2 separate regions of the Homo sapiens genome follow, and region 2 is linked to region 1. The links are contacts of gene promoters, found by promoter capture Hi-C in blood cells and fetal thymus (Javierre and others, 2016). All regions are on one chromosome and are shown on one strand. Each heading gives the region's core, a stretch centred on a gene start or on the middle of the fragment in contact. The rest is flanking DNA. Distances are from core to core; before and after follow the strand shown.

The links. Contacts are between HindIII fragments. The CHiCAGO score rates a contact against its expected background, and 5 or more counts as called.
Region 2: a contact is called between a fragment that was not itself captured here and the fragment with the promoter of INO80C in region 1, in 1 of 17 cell types (fetal thymus). The highest score is 5.6, in fetal thymus.

What each region holds. Positions count from the first base shown.
Region 1 is chr18:35,495,521-35,500,642 of GRCh38, forward strand. It overlaps INO80C (INO80 complex subunit C), which reads right to left and starts at 2,440. Exons shown (of 5, transcript NM_194281.4): 1 at 2,199-2,440. The coding sequence starts at 2,354. RefSeq lists enhancers at 1,458-1,607, 1,878-1,997, 2,348-2,617. The HindIII fragment of the contact is 4,638 bases long and covers 94-4,731 here.
Region 2 is chr18:35,024,142-35,028,904 of GRCh38, forward strand. It overlaps a transcript of MAPRE2 not described here. Among named protein-coding and RNA genes, the nearest start is that of MAPRE2, 15 kb to the right of the region's middle. The HindIII fragment of the contact is 482 bases long and covers 1,710-2,191 here.

The sequences.
Region 1 (5,122 bases), core at 1,190-3,689:
AAAAAGGCCCAGAGGGAATAGAGAGTTAAGATTTCCACCATATTGGATTACTGGGAATTTCCAGTCTCCTGAAGGCATTTGACCACTTTCAGAAGCTTGTGGTAGTGGAAGTTGATCAACAATCCCTTTGGGGTCAAAACAATTATTCCTACCCATATGTCCTAGTGACACTCCTTGGTCCTGGCACAACTGGTTATCAAAACGCACCAGTCGCAGGCTGGGAGCAATTACTCACAATACATACATCTGGCAAAGGAGTCTAATCAAGAAAGATAATGTAATGAACTTCTACACATCAATATAATTTTTTTTTAAAAGCCAATTAGAAAAAAATAATTAGGCACTCCACAAAAGATCTGGAATGTCCAACAAGCTCATGAAAAGTGATTGATATCATTAGCCATCAGAGAAACAAATTAAAACAAGGAGATACTACTACACACTCAACAAAATGGCTAAAAGTTAAAGACTGACAATGAAAGACTGACAATACTCTGTATTGTTGAGGATTTCGAGCAACTGGCACTCTCATACTTTGCCGGTAAGAATGCAAAAACAGTGCAACTACTTTGAGAAATACTGTTTAACAGTTACTGAGTTAAATGTATGCCTACCTTCTGACTCAGCAATTCCACTACTTCTCAAGAGAAATGAAAGCATCTATCTACACAAAGACTTGTACAAGAATGTTCAGAGCAGCTTCTGCACAAAGCCAAAAACTGTAAACGTTCAAATATTCATCGGGTGTATGTTTATACAATGCAACAGATGTACTAAACGACTCTCAAAAACATTGTCTCAAAAAGGAACCTAGACAGATGCAAAAGAATATGTTCCCTATTGTCCTGTATTATTCCATTTATATTATGTTCCAACCCAAAGTCAGTCTATTGTGAAGGGTGGCTGAACAGTGGGTAACTGTTAGGAAGGAAAGACAGTACTGACAGGAAAATGTCACCTGCTCTTAGAAATGCTATCTTGATCCAGGCAGTGGCCATAGGTGTATACAAATGTAAAAGGGCACTGGATCTGTAGTTTTGTTTTGTTTTGTTTTGTTTGCGATAGGCTCACTCTGTTGCCCAAGCTGGACTGCAATGGCACGATCATAGCTCGCTGTAACCTTGAAATCTTGGGCTTAAGTGATGCTCTTGTAGTTGGGACTAAAGGCGTGCACCATCACGCCCAGCTATTTGTAAATTTGGATGGGGGTTGGGGAGCAGGTCTCGAACTCCTGTCCTCAAGCAATCCTCTCACCTTGGCCTCTCAAAGTGCTGGGATACAGGCGTGAGACAGGATTCTTGAAGATCTGTGGTTCAGCCAGTATTCTTGAAAATTTGTGCATTGTACTCTGTGTAAATCTTACTATAGCAAAGTATTTAATATTAAAAGGTTAAAATAAAAAGCACTACCAATCACCTACAGAAGAAGGAACAAGATTTCTAGAACAGCCACTGACTGACTGGGTGAACGGTGGTGTCACACCATATGCTGAGGAGCACAAAGTAACACACTCTATCTCTGCTTTTTTGCTTTGAATAAAATGCAGGAGCCAGAGAAAACACTAATCAAGCCACTCCCTGCTGAAAATTCATTGCTGGAATTACGGAACCTAGATTGTTCAGAGGCCCTGACGTCTGAGCCAGGCGCTGAGCTCAGTGCCTTTACACTCATTACTTCATAACCTTAACAAGCCCATGAGTTAAGACCAAACCTGCCTTTGGATTGGGAAACCCAGGGTCAAAAAAGCACTTTTCTCAGGATGAGAGAAAGCATACTTATCAATACATCTTGTATTCATCCATGCAGGACATTACAGCGCTATGCGCCTCAAAGACACTGGGTAGATGTCTGCAGAATGGACGAGGGGAAGACACGCAAATTTCTGAATGACTGACACTCATTAGTCCTGAACCTCATGCTAAAGGCGACCTCGAGGGGAAGAGGCAGTCCTTCTATTAATACTAAGTCAGTAATAACCTCCCTACTTCTTCTTCTCTCCTTACAACACAAGGCGTTGTAAGCCCATGTGTCCAAACGAAGGGAAAGAGTAGTCATTCACTCCGCGGGGCAGCGTCTTTCAACCCCAACGGAGACCGCACGCGCAGCGCCCCACATTACGCACGCGCCCTGGCTCGGCTCCGCCCCGCCAAGTCCCGTTTCGCGACGCGCACGCGCAGCCTGGGAGCGCGACTGCGTACCTGCGCAAAGCTGGAAGCGGACGCTTTTTTCTTCTTACTGGCGCCATAGCCCCCGCCGCTGCTGCCATTGTGGGAAGGGCTGGCCGGCCTCTTCTTGCTGTTCCGGACTATTCCGGGAGTGGAAGTGGTGGCCACAATTGGAATTTGCGCCGCCATCGCACTCCGAGTCTTCCCCTGGTCCCCCCACCTTTTTCCCAGCGCGGGCCTTGGAACTTCCTTTCCGCTGTTACTTCCGTCTTGATGCTTGAAAACCCGGCCTGGACTCCAAGCTGTAGCTGGCTTCTCTCGGTGCAATCTAAAAGGCGGAGCTCGGAGTAGCCTGTGCCGTCGGGACGGGAAGATGTCAGCGGGCGTTGTCCTGCCACTCGGGCGCTCTGGGCGTGGGCCTTGGGTGGGGCACGTGCCTGGAAATCCCCATTGATAGAGGAATAGAAAATCTCCCAATCTTTTTAAGTAACTACGTTTTAAAAAATTAATGAGCGTGTTGTCTTTTCTCATATAGAAGAGTGATTACTTTTGATGTCTGTAAGCCTAAAGCTGGGGTCGTTCTCAGTAGACCGCCAAGCTACTGGCTTCTCCCTCTATCCCTCCCTGCCTTCCCACGCGGAAAAGGTTTGTATATAAATAGCGCCCAAATGGACATGAAGGGTAGAGTGGTTCTTAATCTCTCCCTTTTTTTTTTTCTTTTATTTGAGACGGAGTTTCGCTCTTGTTGTCCAGGCTGGAGTGCAATGGCGCGATCTCGGCTCACTGCAAACTCCGCCTCCCGGGTTCAAGCGATTCTCCTGCCTCAGCCTCCCGAGTAGCTGGGATCACAGGCATGTGCCACCATGCCCGGCTAATTTTGTATTTTTAGTAGAGACGGGGTTTCTCCATGTTGGTCAGGCTGGTCTCGAGCTCCCGACCTCAGGTGATCTGCCCGCCTCGGCCTCCCTAAGTGCTGGGATTACAGGCGTAAGCCACCACGCCCGGCCGGTTCTTAATCTCTTAGGATTCACAGACTCTTGAGCATGGAATCTGTGCTTCCTATCCCTGCCGCACACCCCCACCTCCCCACCACCCCATTAAATGTATACAGACACAGACAAAATTTTACAGATTTCAGGGAGGTCACAGATCTACTAAAACCTATTTAGGAACCTGAGTCCCCCTACCCGCCTTGTTCTTTGCCTCATTCTACCCTATATTTTTACAGAACCTTTGCGACATCATATAACTAAATGATTTATAATCGGATGGTTAATGTCTTTTTTGGCTCCTGCTAGAATGTAATCTGTATGAGGGAAGGGTCAGTTATGTCTTGTTAACTTATCAGTCCCCCCAATCACAGTACCTTGCAAGTCATTGGTGCATTATAAGTATTTTTAATGATGTATTTAACGAATGAACTAACTCCCTGCAGTGATTGGTGGAAGCTACTATGTTTGAATACAGGAAGTTGATGTATATGAGTCTTGATATTTGAAATAAACAGGCTGCACAATGACTTAGAGGTGAGAGAGAAGGAGCAGTTAGGGAAACTTGCAATATTGTTACTGACATATTTTTTCCTTTAGAGAAAGGAATAAGCCTACCAGTGTTGAAATGTTCTTTCCCACACCCCATCTCCATCCCTATCCTCATCTAAAGCTAGTCTTTTCCTCATTCCTTAACTCAAGGACTCACCTCCAACAAGCCAGTCACCTAAGCAAACTCTACTGTCCCCACCTCCTCCCATTCCTCACCTCCTCAGCTCGCTTCTCTCCTTCACGGCTCCTGCCCTGGTGAATCTGTATCCCATGTCTACATCTCAGCAACAGCCTCCAGATGGACGTTTCGGCCGCCATCTTTCCCTTATCCATTCCTGACCCCAGACCATCCTTCACACTGGCTGCCAGAATGGGATTTCTAAATTACAAATATAATCATACCACTTACTTTCTTACATTCTTCAGGGCCCTTTTGCCTTCAGGGTAAAATTTTTTTTTTACCTTCAGGGTAAGAACGTTTTGGCTTGTCATACAAGGTCCTTAATGACTGGGCTCTGGGCCGGGCGCGGTGGCTCACACCTGTAATCCCAACACTTTGAGAGGCTGAGGCGGGCAGATCACAAGGTCAGGAGATAAAGGCCATCCTGTCCAACACGGTGAAACCTCGTCTCTACTAAAAATACAAAAATTAGCTGAGTATGGTGGCATGCGCCTGTAATCCCAGCTACTCAGAAGGCTGAGGCAGGAGAATCGCTTGAACCCGGGAGATTGCAGTGAGCAGAGATCGTGCCACTGCACTCCAGCCTGGCAACAGAGCAAGACTCCGCCTCAAAACGACAACAACAACAACAACAACAACAACTGGGCTGTGCCCCATTCTGTTGCTTGGTTCCCAACACTTAATTCCTTGTGTTCCAGCCAAGGACTAACTCTATTTCCTAGAATGTATATGTTTTCTTAGCTTGTCATATTTTTGTTTCTATTATTTCCTCTCCTGGGAATGCTTAGCTCCTTGCCTGATTACCATCCATTTTGCCTCAGTTCAGATGCTACTTCCAATGAAAAGCTTTCTGCCATCTGACACACCTTCCTTCCCCTTCCCTTTCCCTGTCCTCACGCTGTGCACGTGAGCACAGGGGGACCTGCTGGGCTGCTTCCTGTCATCCCTTATTGAGTTCAAACACCAACTCCCTACTTTTAAGGAGTCAGACAAGTGGATGCACCGCCATCTGGTTTCCTGTTACTAAATTCAGGCCTGATCTTGTCTGATTCCTTTCTTTCTGAAATTCTTCCCTTGGTATCTGAAACATCACCATCTTTTTGTTTTCCTCTTTCCTGGCCAGTCTTCTGTTACCAAATGGTCTCTAATGCTACTACAGGTTTTTCAAAATATATAGTCACATGCTCCTGTAGATTCACATTTTAAAAGTTTCCCAAGTGATTCTAATGATCAGC
Region 2 (4,763 bases), core at 701-3,200, 470 kb before region 1:
TGATTTGGTTTGTAGCAGGGGGAAAGTGCCCAAGTGTTATTGCATTAGAAGCACTCAGAGTTCTGGAGCTATCTTGTTCTGGTACCATGAGCTGGGATTTTTAGCAACTTTCAGGTCTTTGTCCTCGTTCCTAAAGGTTTTTAAACTCCTAACTTGAAACTAGGAGGAATAGAGATTTTCTCCAACCCCTCTGTAAATGATGAACTCTGTGTCCCTCTCCCTTTTATTCATGCTCTGACAGCATCCTTGACTCATGAAGTATCTTTTGCAATAGTTGCTGAAAGCCTTTTGACTATAAATGCTGTTTTCTTCAGAATGAAGTAGAACAAAGCATTTTATGCAAATGAACCTATTTCAGTTCTATTGATAACGATATAACTTGCTTTTATTCAGTAAATGAAGAAGAGAATCTGAAGATGAATAAAATTTACTACGAGTATCTGCAGATCAGGATCTGAAAGTTAATTTAACCTTCATTTCCCATTTTGGAGAGAATTATAATCATGCAAAAATTTGGTTCTTACATTTGCCTGGCTGATATTCAAGGGGAATTTAGAAATAGACCTTTTCAGTAAATTTAGTATTGTCCTTTATATCATAGACAATGTTAAGGATGGCAACATCTCTCATTGCTATAGGACATTCTCTTTTGTCAGATAAACTAGTGCTAACCTCTGAGGGGACTGATTCTTTAATTCGTTGCTGCTTGTTTTCTTTCTCCATGTTGTGAGTAGCTATTAATACAATGATGAATTTGCTTGGAGGGTGAGTGAGAAAAATATAAAAAAATACAGGTTAACTATAAATTTTAGAATTATATAATTGGGAAACACTAGAGGGTTATTCTGAAGTCTTTTTAGTGAAATCCAGCTTCTCACCTTGATTAGTACTAGCAAAGCCATATTTCTACTCTTGATCAAATGTGTCCTTTATAGAGTATTTGTACAAAGCATGACATAAGCATGGATTTGCAGCTGTTTCATAACCACTGTGAAGTTTCTTGGCTCTGCTCCACAGCACTGTGTCCAAGTTTCAGGAACTCTTCTCAAGTACTGTGAATGTGGAAGGAGGCCACTTGTGGAATGATTTACTTTACCCAGAGTTGAGTGTTTTGCGTGCAGAATGTGAAGCTGCTGTTCAGCCTGTTGTGTCCAAATGTAAGTGACTGGCCAAAGAAACTTTTTTTGGAGCTTGTCATCCAGCCTCAAAACTTACCCTCTGTGGATCTTTGCATGTTCTAACCATCAATAGGAAATAGCAATGCTATAACTTTTCATTTCTTCCAGCCAATAATCCCCTATGAATTTTTTAGCTGATATTTTAATGAGCTTAAAACATTGTGATTCTGACTTTAATGATGTACTCGATTGTAATTAAAGCAGTTATAAAGATGAGACAGTCGTGGCTGAATGTTCCCAACTCTATGTGCTCTTCACCCTAGGAGGACAGGGACTCAGAGGTAACAACTCGGATACTGTTAACATTTACATCATCAGAATTCATTTCACTAAATTGCCGTCCTCTCTGTAGTTTTTTAATAAAGCAAGCTGAAGTTATTTTCAAACAGTAGCTTAGAAGTCTAGCAGTTCCACTGAACATAGTCCAGTGGAATAATCAGATGTAGTAATAGATTCTTCCAAGAGCATTTATGAAGGATTCCAAATAGGAATGTTTACAGGTTCTTCTCTTTGTTTACCAAGTACAGAGGAAGCTTTGCTTATGCTGATACCAGGTGGCAAAACTAACATTCCAGGTTAGGCCGAAACCAAATTCAATCTTACTCTTTCTATACACGGTGGGGCATAAGTTTCTAAAGGTAGTTAGGTTTTACAGTGCCAAAAGAAAAACTTAGAATTTTTGTCTTGAAATGATAGGGAACCCCTGAAGACTTCTAAAAATGAAAGGAGGGAAGATAGAGCTGGTGGTGAGATGTGAATTGATTGTGAAGCAAGGAAACCTCTCTAGAGAGACTCATGAGGTAGGTGAGAGGAAGGAGCGTGTCTGAAGCAGGGTGTGAGCAGCGGGAGAGGAATGGGCAGGACATACCTGTCCCCCTGTGAAATGAACAGGTATGATGTCTGAATCAGACAGATGGGTAGAGAGGGAAAAACATTCTGAGGATTCAAAGCTAAGTGCTGGCTATCAGTTTAGCTCAAGCAGGAGATCTGGAGAGGGAGCCAAGTAGGAGAGAAGCTTCCTCATTAAATGTACTGTGTATTGTCTAAACCAATGGCCGCAACCTAATTTCTGTGCATGCCTCTGACCTGCTTATTCAGCAAGTGAGAGAATGCAGCGATGAATATGGACACCACACCACAGTCTCACATTTTTACAAGGTGCTTTTGGAAACCTGAATGGAGATTTGACTTTTTTTTTTTAGTTGCTTCCATGGCAACCCTCCCCATGAAAACAGGCGCAGTCTGCAGAGGCCTGTTCTTTTCTGTTGATGTTTGTCACTACCACATGGGGTCAGGTTTGTTCTTTCTCCCTCCCCAAAAATATTTGCTAGCTCTGTGGAAAAACTGCTGTTGCCCTAAACAGTTTACCTGCATCTGTACCCCGCTGTTCCTGTGCCAAGGTGACTAGGGACCTTCTGTGTGGCTTTGGCATCCCTCAGTTTCCAGATATAAAGCAGAGGACAGGTTCCCTCTACTCTCAAATTCCCATGGGCATGGCTGGGGATAGGAGAGCAGGCAGAGTCCCTCTTCAAGGACACTCACCAGCTCCTAACCCAACATCTCTAACCAGTCATGTAGTCTTGTGGCTTATAGTACGAACTTTAGTTTCTGAATCTTTGAAAGATCTTAAGCTTTTGATACTTGAAAATGAGACTCTGAGGCTCATAAACATTTCTTCAGGGTTTTTTCTCTGCCATGGGCTTACAAGTTGATTTTGAAACTCCGAAGTTGAACATTCATTCTTTTCTTCCTCTCTTGCATTCCTGCCCCATGCTGAAAACTCAGCGAGTAAAGAAGGTTCAGCAGGTGTGTGTGGCAGGTTTTCCAAAGTGGGTTACTACAATCTCTCCCATCCCACAGGTTTTCTTGCAGTGTGAGATTGACATTCCTCCTAGTTATGTTACCAGTGGTGTTGATAGCCCTTCCTCTTGAATCTGGGTGGAACTTTGTGGCAGCCCTGACCAGCAAAATACAATGGAAGTGATGCTCTGTGACTTCCAAGACTAGGTTTTAAAACTGCCATGCCCTTCTGCCTGCTCATTAGGGATGCTTGTGCTAGGAACCCAGCCACCATGCTGTGAGGAGCCCAGGCCACATGGGGAAGCCTTGCATAGGTGTTCCAACCAGAGCCCCAGCTGAGGCCCCAATTAAAAGGCAACGTCAGCCACCAGTCATGAGACTGAGGAAGCCTTTATGAAGACTTCAGCAGTCAGTCACCTTCCAACCATAGCTACATGAGAGACCATGGGTGACAACCACCTAGCCAAGCCCAGTCAACCTCCAGAATGACAAGAGATAATAATAAAATGATTATTGCTATTTTAATCCACCAAGTTTAGAGTCACAATAGAGAACCAACAGGGTTTTTCTGTTATCTGTTAATGCATAACAGCCTACCACAAAACTTATTAACTTAAAATAACCATTTGTCCTACATTATGGTTTTGTGGACCAGGAGTTCAGGAAGGTCTTGGTTAGGTGGGTCCTTTCTAATCCATATATCCATATAGTGTCAGCTGTGGTGGGTGAAGATGCAGGATGCTTCCTCAGTCACATATTTGGAGCCTTGGTACTCTTTGTGGTCTCTCCTCTCTTCCCCTCCCTCTCCATGTGTCCCACCCTCTGGGCCTCTCTACATGGTTGGTACTTCCCCCAGAGTAGCTAGACTTCTCACAGGGCAGCAGACCTGCCTTCTTACAGAGCAGCATGGTAGTCCCAGGGTAGCTGAACTTCTCACAGGGCAGCTGACCTTTAAGAGACAAAGGCAAAAGCTGCCTGTCATTGTAAGGTCTAGGTCAAGAACTGGTCGGCATCATTTCTACCAAAATCTATTGATCAAAGCTGCCACCATGATTCAAAGGGAGGAGAAATAAATCCAACCTCTAGAATGGAAGGGTAAGAAAAAATTATGGCCACAGGGGCAAGGCAGGAACCTAGGTTTATATCTCAAAATGTTACCTTACAAATCTTATTATACCTGTTTTATGGGTGAAGAAGCTGAAGCTAGAGGAGTTAAGTAATTTGGCCAAGGTTACACAACTTGTAAGCACTTGGATTCAAATCCAAAGCATATGCATCAAAACCATGAACTCTGAATTTTGCTATTCTTCTATGCAAAATATAGTAAATATATAATGTATACTATATTTTCTTAATTCCCCAGTACTAACTTTTATAAGGAAGATAACATCCCCCAACCCCCCAAACACATACACATTACAGCTCTAATTTTAGAAAAACCTAGAGAACTATTCTAAATGACCTGATTTGGGTCATAGGCCTATCTCTGCATCAATCCTCAGGGTCTGGAGGATGGAATAATTATATTTGGCAAGCTCTGCTACAACCACAAGGATTGAAGAAATAATTTCCCGAAAGAGGGAGGAGCAAACAAAATAATGTTCACTGTGCATGCTCTTTATACTGCAAGCCATTATTTCTCATTCATGATTTCATTGCATCATTGAAGGCAGATAGGATCTGTCCCAGTGAGACTGGAATTGTGGGCTGGTGGGAATGGCGTGAAGACAGGCTGTGTAGAGAAGTTCATTCCAAGCATTGATTCTAGATCTATCAGCTAACTAT